Linked DNA regions of Homo sapiens: region 1 is linked to region 2. The links are contacts of gene promoters, found by promoter capture Hi-C in blood cells and fetal thymus (Javierre and others, 2016). All regions are on one chromosome and are shown on one strand. The core of a region is centred on a gene start or on the middle of the fragment in contact, and the rest is flanking DNA. Distances in the headings are between cores, read along the strand shown. Region 1 overlaps ROCK1 (Rho associated coiled-coil containing protein kinase 1). Region 2 holds the start of ROCK1 (Rho associated coiled-coil containing protein kinase 1).

What was found. Contacts are between HindIII fragments. The CHiCAGO score rates a contact against its expected background, and 5 or more counts as called.
Region 1: a contact is called between a fragment that was not itself captured here and the fragment with the promoter of ROCK1 in region 2, in 3 of 17 cell types (naive CD4 T cells, total B cells and naive B cells). The highest score is 5.5, in naive CD4 T cells.

The regions. Positions count from the first base shown.
Region 1 is chr18:21,061,012-21,065,591 of GRCh38, reverse strand. The region is part of intron 2 of ROCK1 (Rho associated coiled-coil containing protein kinase 1); the gene reads left to right. Among named protein-coding and RNA genes, the nearest start is that of ROCK1, 49 kb to the left of the region's middle. The HindIII fragment of the contact is 179 bases long and covers 1,825-2,003 here.
Region 2 is chr18:21,109,701-21,114,135 of GRCh38, reverse strand. It overlaps ROCK1 (Rho associated coiled-coil containing protein kinase 1), which reads left to right and starts at 2,323. Exons shown (of 33, transcript NM_005406.3): 1 at 2,323-3,318. The coding sequence starts at 3,226. RefSeq lists enhancers at 1,725-1,784, 1,815-2,034, 2,134-2,428, 2,082-2,670 and a silencer at 2,075-2,464. The HindIII fragment of the contact is 6,843 bases long and covers 1-4,435 here.

The DNA.
Region 1 (4,580 bases), core at 665-3,164, 48 kb after region 2:
AAAATTTGGGAACAGTGATTATGATTGTATATGCTTATAAACCATTATGGATGTCACAGAGACTTTAGGGTACAAGATTCATAATTATATGTTAATAGAAAAACATGTTTATCAAACAAATCTTAGTCTAAAAGAAGATAATGGAGAAGGTAAGACCATTGAATGAAGAAAATTCATGAACCTCCGGGTATAAATGCAAGAGAGCTCATTTGTTTGGCTTAAAAAAAAAACAGAACTGATATTTTATGTCATATACTATATCTTTTATAATATAGATTACAAAAGTGACATAATAGCTATGGTAGTGATAAAAGCATACAGTACAGTTGGTAAATTTTTGGTTGCTTTGGCACTAGTACAATTACTGAGAAAGTAATGCGAATAATCACTATTCAGAGTTAGTGATCAAAAGCGATGATCATTTAGAATGTTACACAGACCTTGAGACAAAGCATTCAGTTCACTTTAGACCAGGGTTTCTCAAGTGGCACCAATGACATTTTAGGTCAGATAACTCTTTGCTGGGAGGCTGTTCTTTGCATCGTATGATGTTTAGCAGCACCCCTGGCCTCTGCCTTCTTAATGCCAGTAGCATATCCTAACACCTATCCCCAGTTGTGATCACCAGAAATATTTCTAGACATTGCCAAATATCCCTTGAGAGGCAAAACTGCCTAAGACTTTATGTTGATGAAGGAAAGAAATAGTGGGCGCAGTTAGACACGTGCTCCAAGCTTAGAAAATGTAATCAAAAGCAATAAATATTAGAAGGTTGCAGCCATAGAAAGCAAGGTTCTTCCACAGGGAGTTCTCAGCTGAGATTATAAAGTTTTATGAACCAGATCAGAAGTATGAATACATATCCAGGGATAAATACAAAAGAGTAGTATAAATCTATTAAAAATGTGTTAGGCTAGAAGACTATAATGAGCCACAACTTGTGAAAAGCTCTTAAGCCCTTTACAAGTCATTCTCTCTTCTACTCCCATCCTTCCTGGTTAGAATTAGGATTCAAGATGTGTGAGAAAAGGATAATTTCACTACATGAGACCATTCTTGAAATAGTTTTTGAATGACCAGTTACTAAAGACATGAAGAACAAGACTGTTTTTCTTAGAAACTGTAGCTCTTACCATCTCATGGATGGAAACACACACAGATATACCTTATAATAGTAGAAGTTTGTAGAGAATGTAATGATACACAGATCTTGAATGGGGTAAAGAAAGGCTTCCAAAAGAAAGTAATATTTGAGTCTTAAAACATGGGCTAGATTTTTCAATGGAGGAAGGACAGTTCTGAGAGGGAGGACCATTTAAATCACAGAGTCTTCCAAAAGTATGACATCTTTGAGGAACCAGGAGTTTGGTGTAAATTGAACTTGGTTTATAATGAGAGAGAAAGGGTCGGGAGGACGGACTGCAGGGGATGAGACTGAAATGGCAGGCTGGGGCTTTTGGGTTAATGGGTTGGATATTAAAAAAAATTACTTAGTTGCTTGTTTTTTCTTTTCAAATTCTCATGAGTTTTAAAAACTTAGATAAAGAAATTGAAGTAAGTTCAAGGAAGAGGAGAAAGTTTGAGTGTTTTAAATACCTCTAAATCAAGGCAGTTTACACCTATTGAATTAACATGCTGAGGTGATTGAAGATCTTTAGAGAAACTTTGGAGAATGATGGAGTTCCCAAAAAACTAAAGATAGGTAAATGGTCTGGTTATAATAAACCAAAGAAAAGACTGATAAGTGCAGATTTCTGAACAGTGGCAGTCTTCATACAGAGGCTTGACTTTCCCTCTTTTTCCAACACAACTATTGTTTAAGCTTCTTCATTTTCATTTAAATGATCACAAAAATCTTCCATTCAGTCTCAATAATACATCTACTTTTGCCTATGTACAGTTACCTACGTTGCTGCCAGAGGATTCTTTTTGAATAGTAAATTTAAGTCAAATTCCATTCCCAGCTTTTTGGTGGATTTTCTAAACTTGATGCTATCTAAGCTTCTAAATTACATTCTTAACTGTACACCTCTCCTCCTTGTTTCCTTACACATCAGCTACACGCTGACATTTATTTCCTGGAAAGTACCATGACACCTCCATAAGACTTTTCAGATGTTGTTTTTCTCTTTCTAGAATTCTTTCCAACCCACCCAACTCAAAGCAGTCATCCTTTAAATTTCAAATAAGCCTTCATTTTTGTTCCCTAACCTCTTGGTTATCTAGGCTTCATGGATCTGACCTTCTGAGCATGTACTTCTATGGCATCTTGTATACTTATCACAGGTTATATTTATTTGTATGACTATTTAATTGGTACCTGCTGTGGTTTGAATGCCCCCACCAAAACTCATTAAAGTTTAATTGCCAGTGCTAGTAGGTGGGGACGTTAAGAAGTGATTAGGTCATGTGGGTTCCACCCCCATGAATGGATTAATGCTGTTATTGTGGGAAGGGGTTATAAAAGTGAGCTCTTGTGCATGTATGCTCTTACTCTTCCACTTGTCTACCATTGAATGACCCTTGCCAGATGCCCTTTTTTCTTTTATAAATTACCCATTCTGTGGTATTCTGTTATAGCAGCAAAAAACAGACTAAGACAGTATCCATTCTCCTTTTTCTCCTTCTCCTGTCACTAGATTTTAAGTGCCATGAGAGCAGGGGCATTTATGTTTTTACTGCCAAACCTGACAGCATAGTAAGTACTTGTTATATATGAGCTCAGTGCATTAGACGTTGGATACTGACTTGTTAGAGATGATCTAGAAAGTCCAGGTGGTCTCTGACTTTAAAATTTCCAGCTTTATGAGGGTTTCATTGGAACATAACTCCATCATAAATCTAGGCACATCACTGGTGATGTTAACGCTTATCATTTGGTTTAAGGTAGTGTCTGGCAAGCTTCTCCACTAGTAAGTTACCATTTTCTTTTTCCAAACGCTGTGGAGGGGAGCGTATTCCCTTTCCATACTCTCCTGGAGGGGAGACTTTACACGTATTATTTGGAATTCTGTAGGGAAGATTTGCCTTTTCTCCCCCATTTATTAATTTAGTCATTGATTTATATAATATAAACTGCATATATTTATTTCATACTTTGGGTTGTAATCCAGTAGTGTGTTATTTATTAGGTTGGTGCAAAAGTAATTGCAGTTTTTGCCACTATTTTTAGCAAAAATCTCAATTGCTTTTGCACCAACCTAATACTTTGTTACTTAAATTGTTCTCATTTTTGCCTTTTGGGAGCTCCTTCAGGTTGGACCCAGCTCCTACTCCTGTGTTCTTTGACATGTTCTTACTTTTTTTAAAAAAAGGAACACTTCTTTACTTTCTGGCATTACACGATGCTCCAGGCTCATCTTATATTTTCCCTCAGCCCTGAAATCAGCCATTTTTTCCAAGGAGCTCTGGTTCCTTTTATTGGAGAATGATATTTAGAAACCAAGATCTGGGTGCTAGGTGTGCTTATTGCTACTGGTGATCACTGTTTCAAGGCCCTCTCAGCTGCCATAGCTAGGAAATATATGTATGCATGTATACCAGCCTGTGACTATACACATAACTATAATTCTATACCTGTACACATGTTAAACGTGTTTAGACTGATATTACCAGCTCTAAACTAGTATCACAAGATTCATTCTAGCTTTTGCCCTTGCCTGTTTGTAACTTTTTTTCTCTGATGATGAGAAACCTGGCTCCCATTATTGGTATTTACTTACTCAACCCTAATATTCATGTAAAATAAACCATACACCCTGTGAGAAATGGATTTACCAACTGGAACACAATATCTTTGTACAGTTCCTTTTTTGTCTTTAGCCTTAGTTTCCAGCTAAAACAGTTTTCCAGCATTACGTAGTTCAGCTTCTTTTCCCTCACCACCTTCAATGAGGGCATGTCATCTTGTTAGTCATACATTTAGATTCATTTGTTAGAATCTGGATTCCATCCTGAGATCCCCCAGAATCCCAATTGATTTTTTAAATTTGCATAAAGTGTGTATAGTTCTGTGGGTCTTAACAAACACATAGTCTTGTCTGCAACACCCCAATACCATTCGGAACAGTTCCATCACCCCCACTCCTGGGAAACACTGATCTCTTTTTCTGTTCCTATAGTTTTACCTTTTCCAGAATGTCATTAAATGGAATCATACAGTGTATAGCCTTTTGATTCTGTCTTTTTTTCACTTAGCAAAAATGCATTTAAGGCTGGGCACAGTGGCTCTTGCCTGTAAGCCCAGCACCTTGGGAGGCTGAAGCGGGCAGATCACCTGAGATCAGGAGTTCAAGACCAGCCTGGCCAACATGACAAAACCCCGTCTGTATTAAAAAATACGAAAATTAGCCGGGTATGGTGGCAGGTGCCTATAATTCCAGCTACTTGGGAGGCTGAGGCAGGAGAATCAATTAAACCTGGGAAGTGGAGGTTGCAGTGAGCCAAGATTGCGCCATTGCACTCCAGCCTGGGTGACAGAGCAAGACTCTGCCTTGAAAAAAAAAAAAAAATAAAAGCATTTAAGATTCCTTCATGTTGTCCATGTTGTGTGAAGTAGTTGCTTTTTCCTTTTTTCCCCT
Region 2 (4,435 bases), core at 1,074-3,573:
CGAGGTCAGGAGTTCGAGACCAGCCTGGCCAACATGGTGAAACCCCATCTCTACTAAAAATATAAAAATAGGCCAGGGCAGTGGCTCACGCCTGTAATCCCAACATTTCCGGAGGCCAAGGTGGGCGGATCACCTGAGGTCGGGAGTTCAAGACCATCCTGACCAACATGGAGAAACCCCATCTCGACTAAAAATACAAAATTAGCTGGGCATGGTGGAGCATGCCTGTAATCCCAGCTATTCGGGAGGCAGGAGAATCACTTGAATCCAGAAGGTGGAGGTTGCGGTGAGCCGCGATCGCGACATTGCACACCAGCCTGAGCAACAAGAGTGAAACTCCATCTCAAAACAAAATAAAACAAACAAAACACCAAAAATTAGCTGGGCGTGGTGGCGTGTGCCTGTAATCCCAGCTACTCCGGAGGCTGAGGCGGGAGAATCGCTTGAACCCGGGAGGCAGAGGTTGCAGTGAGCCGAGATCGTGCCACTGCACTCCAGACTGGTAGACAAGAGTGAAACTCCGCCTCGGAGAAAAAAAAAAAAGTTAATTTAGAGTCCATCTATCTTATGGCAGAAGATAACTAGATTTAGAGTCCATCTATCTTATGGCAGAAGATAACTAGTGATGTGTCACAATAATCAGAAGAGCCTTGTAGGTAAGTAAGCTATATATGGACCCCACCTATATTTCTAGTAGATATTTCTAGAAATATATGGACCCCACATATATTTCTAGTAGTTCTGCCAGGTTGGTTATCACTTCCACTTATATTTATCAGTGTCACTCATGTATTGTCTTAACTACTTGTATTTTTTCGTATGTGTCTAAATGGAAAGCAACATAATGTTCACGGTTCTCTGAGAAACAACAAAATTCCTAATACCTAAAAATGGTAATAATAATAAAAAAAAGACAAGCAGGGTTTAGGAAATTTATTTTAGGGCAACTGCCTGATTTATTTTAAGCCCTATGCTTAAAAATAAGTCTAATTCACATGACTTAAAATGCTGGAGCCAAGAAAAGTCGCTGCAAAGGCATTTAATGAAATACCTGGTTTGTCTAGTTGTCTTTGTTATGATTTTTGTATAAACCAAGAACGTCCTATCTTGATATATATAGTGGATTTTATATCTAAATATTTCTTGTATTTAATAAATTGAAAATAGAAATAGACATTTTTTCAAACAGTGTAAGATTTTCCTAACCTCTGACTCACATCGTAAGGCTGGTGGACTGTTCAGATGCTGTACGATGCTTTTTACTCCGATGCTTTTTGGTTCATCTGTAGCATTTTCCATCATGGGGTAAAAGATCCACATTTTCTATTTCTAGTGATCCTTAATTTGGCTTCTGAGCAAAAATAAAGTTTGATGAGGAATAAATTAAGGTAGATTTCCTGCTGAAACCAGTGAAGAACATAACTTTATCAGCGGGGGTGAGTGACAAGTCTTTCACCTTTCCTCACACCACAGTCAACGAAGTAACGGAACTAGGAGAAATGCCCATTATTCTCATGTCCTACATTAGTTCTGATAAAAATCACAATTAAGTTTCACTGAATGTTTTGACATTGAAACGGCAGCATTACACGTCCAGGAGAGAACTACAGTAGGGGTGTTATGAGAACTAACACGAACGACTTAAAAATATTGATTTTTTTCTACGAGATTATTTTCCTTTAAAAAAATTAAATTGAGCTTGACTTCTATTGACTGTATCTTCCGGAGTCAGTATTTTATGGCTCCCCTGACACACACGCCTGGCGTGGGAGGGCTGAGCGCTGCAGCGCTTCGGAACTTTCCCAGTGAATCGTAAATGGGTTCAACGCCGGGGCTCGCGGAGGGCTGTCCATGGAGTACCACTGAAAACCAAACGCCACTGGTGCTCAATGCTGGTACCTGCCGACGAAAAGGCTTCTTGCCTAAAAAAGAACCTATTGCCCCACCCTAACAGCAACAAGGAGAACAAGCACTCTCTCCTCGTCAGAAGTCTCTGGACTGGCTGCAACCCAGAGGAAACAGAGCTGGGGCATCTGCCGGGACAGCGATCAGAAGCAGCCAGAGCTCCGCCTCCGTCCGGACCTCCAAGGCCGCTCCAGAGCCCTGCATGGCTCCTCAGAGCCGGCCAAGGCGAGAACCTTGCCGGCAGCTGCTTACCCGCACTCGGCTCCTCCCAGCGGTCCGCCTTCTCCACCGCCTGCCCGCAAGGCCCCGCCCACCTCACCGCCCCGCCCCACCCCACCCTGCGGAGGCGACAGAGTGCGCGCGCGCGCGCGGGGTCCCGGCTGGTTCCCCTTCCGAGCGTCCGCGCCCCGCATGCGCAGTCTGCCCCGGCGGTCTCCGTTTGTTTGAACAGGAAGGCGGACATATTAGTCCCTCTCAGCCCCCCTCGCCCCACCCCCCAGGCATTCGCCGCCGCGACTCGCCCTTTCCCCGGCTGGGACCGCAGCCCCTCCCAGAAGCTCCCCCATCAGCAGCCGCCGGGACCCAACTATCGTCTTCCTCTTCGCCCGCTCTCCAGCCTTTCCTCTGCTAAGTCTCCATCGGGCATCGACCTCGCCCTGCCCCACCGGACACCGTAGCAGCAGCCCCAGCAGCGACGGGACAAAATGGGAGAGTGAGGCTGTCCTGCGTGGACCAGCTCGTGGCCGAGACTGATCGGTGCGTCGGGCCGGGCCGAGTAGAGCCGGGGACGCGGGGCTAGACCGTCTACAGCGCCTCTGAGCGGAGCGGGCCCGGCCCGTGGCCCGAGCGGCGGCCGCAGCTGGCACAGCTCCTCACCCGCCCTTTGCTTTCGCCTTTCCTCTTCTCCCTCCCTTGTTGCCCGGAGGGAGTCTCCACCCTGCTTCTCTTTCTCTACCCGCTCCTGCCCATCTCGGGACGGGGACCCCTCCATGGCGACGGCGGCCGGGGCCCGCTAGACTGAAGCACCTCGCCGGAGCGACGAGGCTGGTGGCGACGGCGCTGTCGGCTGTCGTGAGGGGCTGCCGGGTGGGATGCGACTTTGGGCGTCCGAGCGGCTGTGGGTCGCTGTTGCCCCCGGCCCGGGGTCTGGAGAGCGGAGGTCCCCTCAGTGAGGGGAAGACGGGGGAACCGGGCGCACCTGGTGACCCTGAGGTTCCGGCTCCTCCGCCCCGCGGCTGCGAACCCACCGCGGAGGAAGTTGGTTGAAATTGCTTTCCGCTGCTGGTGCTGGTAAGAGGGCATTGTCACAGCAGCAGCAACATGTCGACTGGGGACAGTTTTGAGACTCGATTTGAAAAAATGGACAACCTGCTGCGGGATCCCAAATCGGAAGTGAATTCGGATTGTTTGCTGGTGAGTAGCGCTGTTCTCTTTTGCTTGTCTGGGGTTTTGCATGTCTTTCCTTCCTCTTGCATTAGTCTGGTTCGCTGCAAAAGTCTCAGGTGTGCATAATCGTCTTGGAAAATGCTAGATTTCTGTTTCCTGAAGAATCTTGGAGTACCATTAACATCTCATGGTGTGGTCCTATTTGCCATTTGACTGGCTCTGTACTAACTACTCTGAACTTTTAATTCTGACTCAGTTCATGAGTACCCGAAAGATACTTACAAACTGCTATTGCAGGCATCCTATAAAAAGTTATCACGTCAGAGTTACTGCAATGTATACAGTTTGTTGAATGGCGATCGTAGTAATTAATGTTAATCTTTCTGATCCGTTTGACAGTTAAATTGGAAAGACTACTTTGCATTTTTTTTCCTTTTTGCGATTTAGCTCCTAGGGGTTTAGTTTTTAGCCTTGAAAATGATAACGGAGAATTGCTATTGAGGAAGTGATTTTTGAGCCAAAATTTCATAGGTGATTTGAGTTTGAAGGAACTTTTTGCTAAACTATTGTAAAAAACCAAGATAATTGGTCATAGGTAATTACAGTGTTAACTTATTTTATTGTATTATTGGTTACAAAAGTACGTACCATACAGTTATTGTAACTGTCTTTTTGGTGGTGTGGCACTTAACATTGTCACTTGTAAAACATTCTAAAGAGGGTTTTATGACATGAAAAACCACAATCCCATTTTAAAAATAGTTAAGTGGTTGATAATACAGTTATCTGTAAATAATTGGAATTCTTAGGTTTGATACATTTCCTCTGTAAATGTATCAAAGTTGTTCAGAGTTTCTGAACAACTAAGGGTTATATAATATTTCTTGGTCCAAACAAAACCACATAATCTCTAAAATAAGGTTTCAGGGAGCATGTATATGGACAGGATTTCACAATGTCTTCGGTGAAATAATGTTAGATATGCTCAATTTTGGGGATTAAGATTAAGGAAACAAAATAATACCATTCAAAGAAATAATACAATTCAAAAATCGCATCTTGAATCAAAGGAAAATTAATGTAGATTGTTTAAAATTAACGTGCATTTCAGTTACTCTAAATTTCTGTTTATTTGTATTTTTCC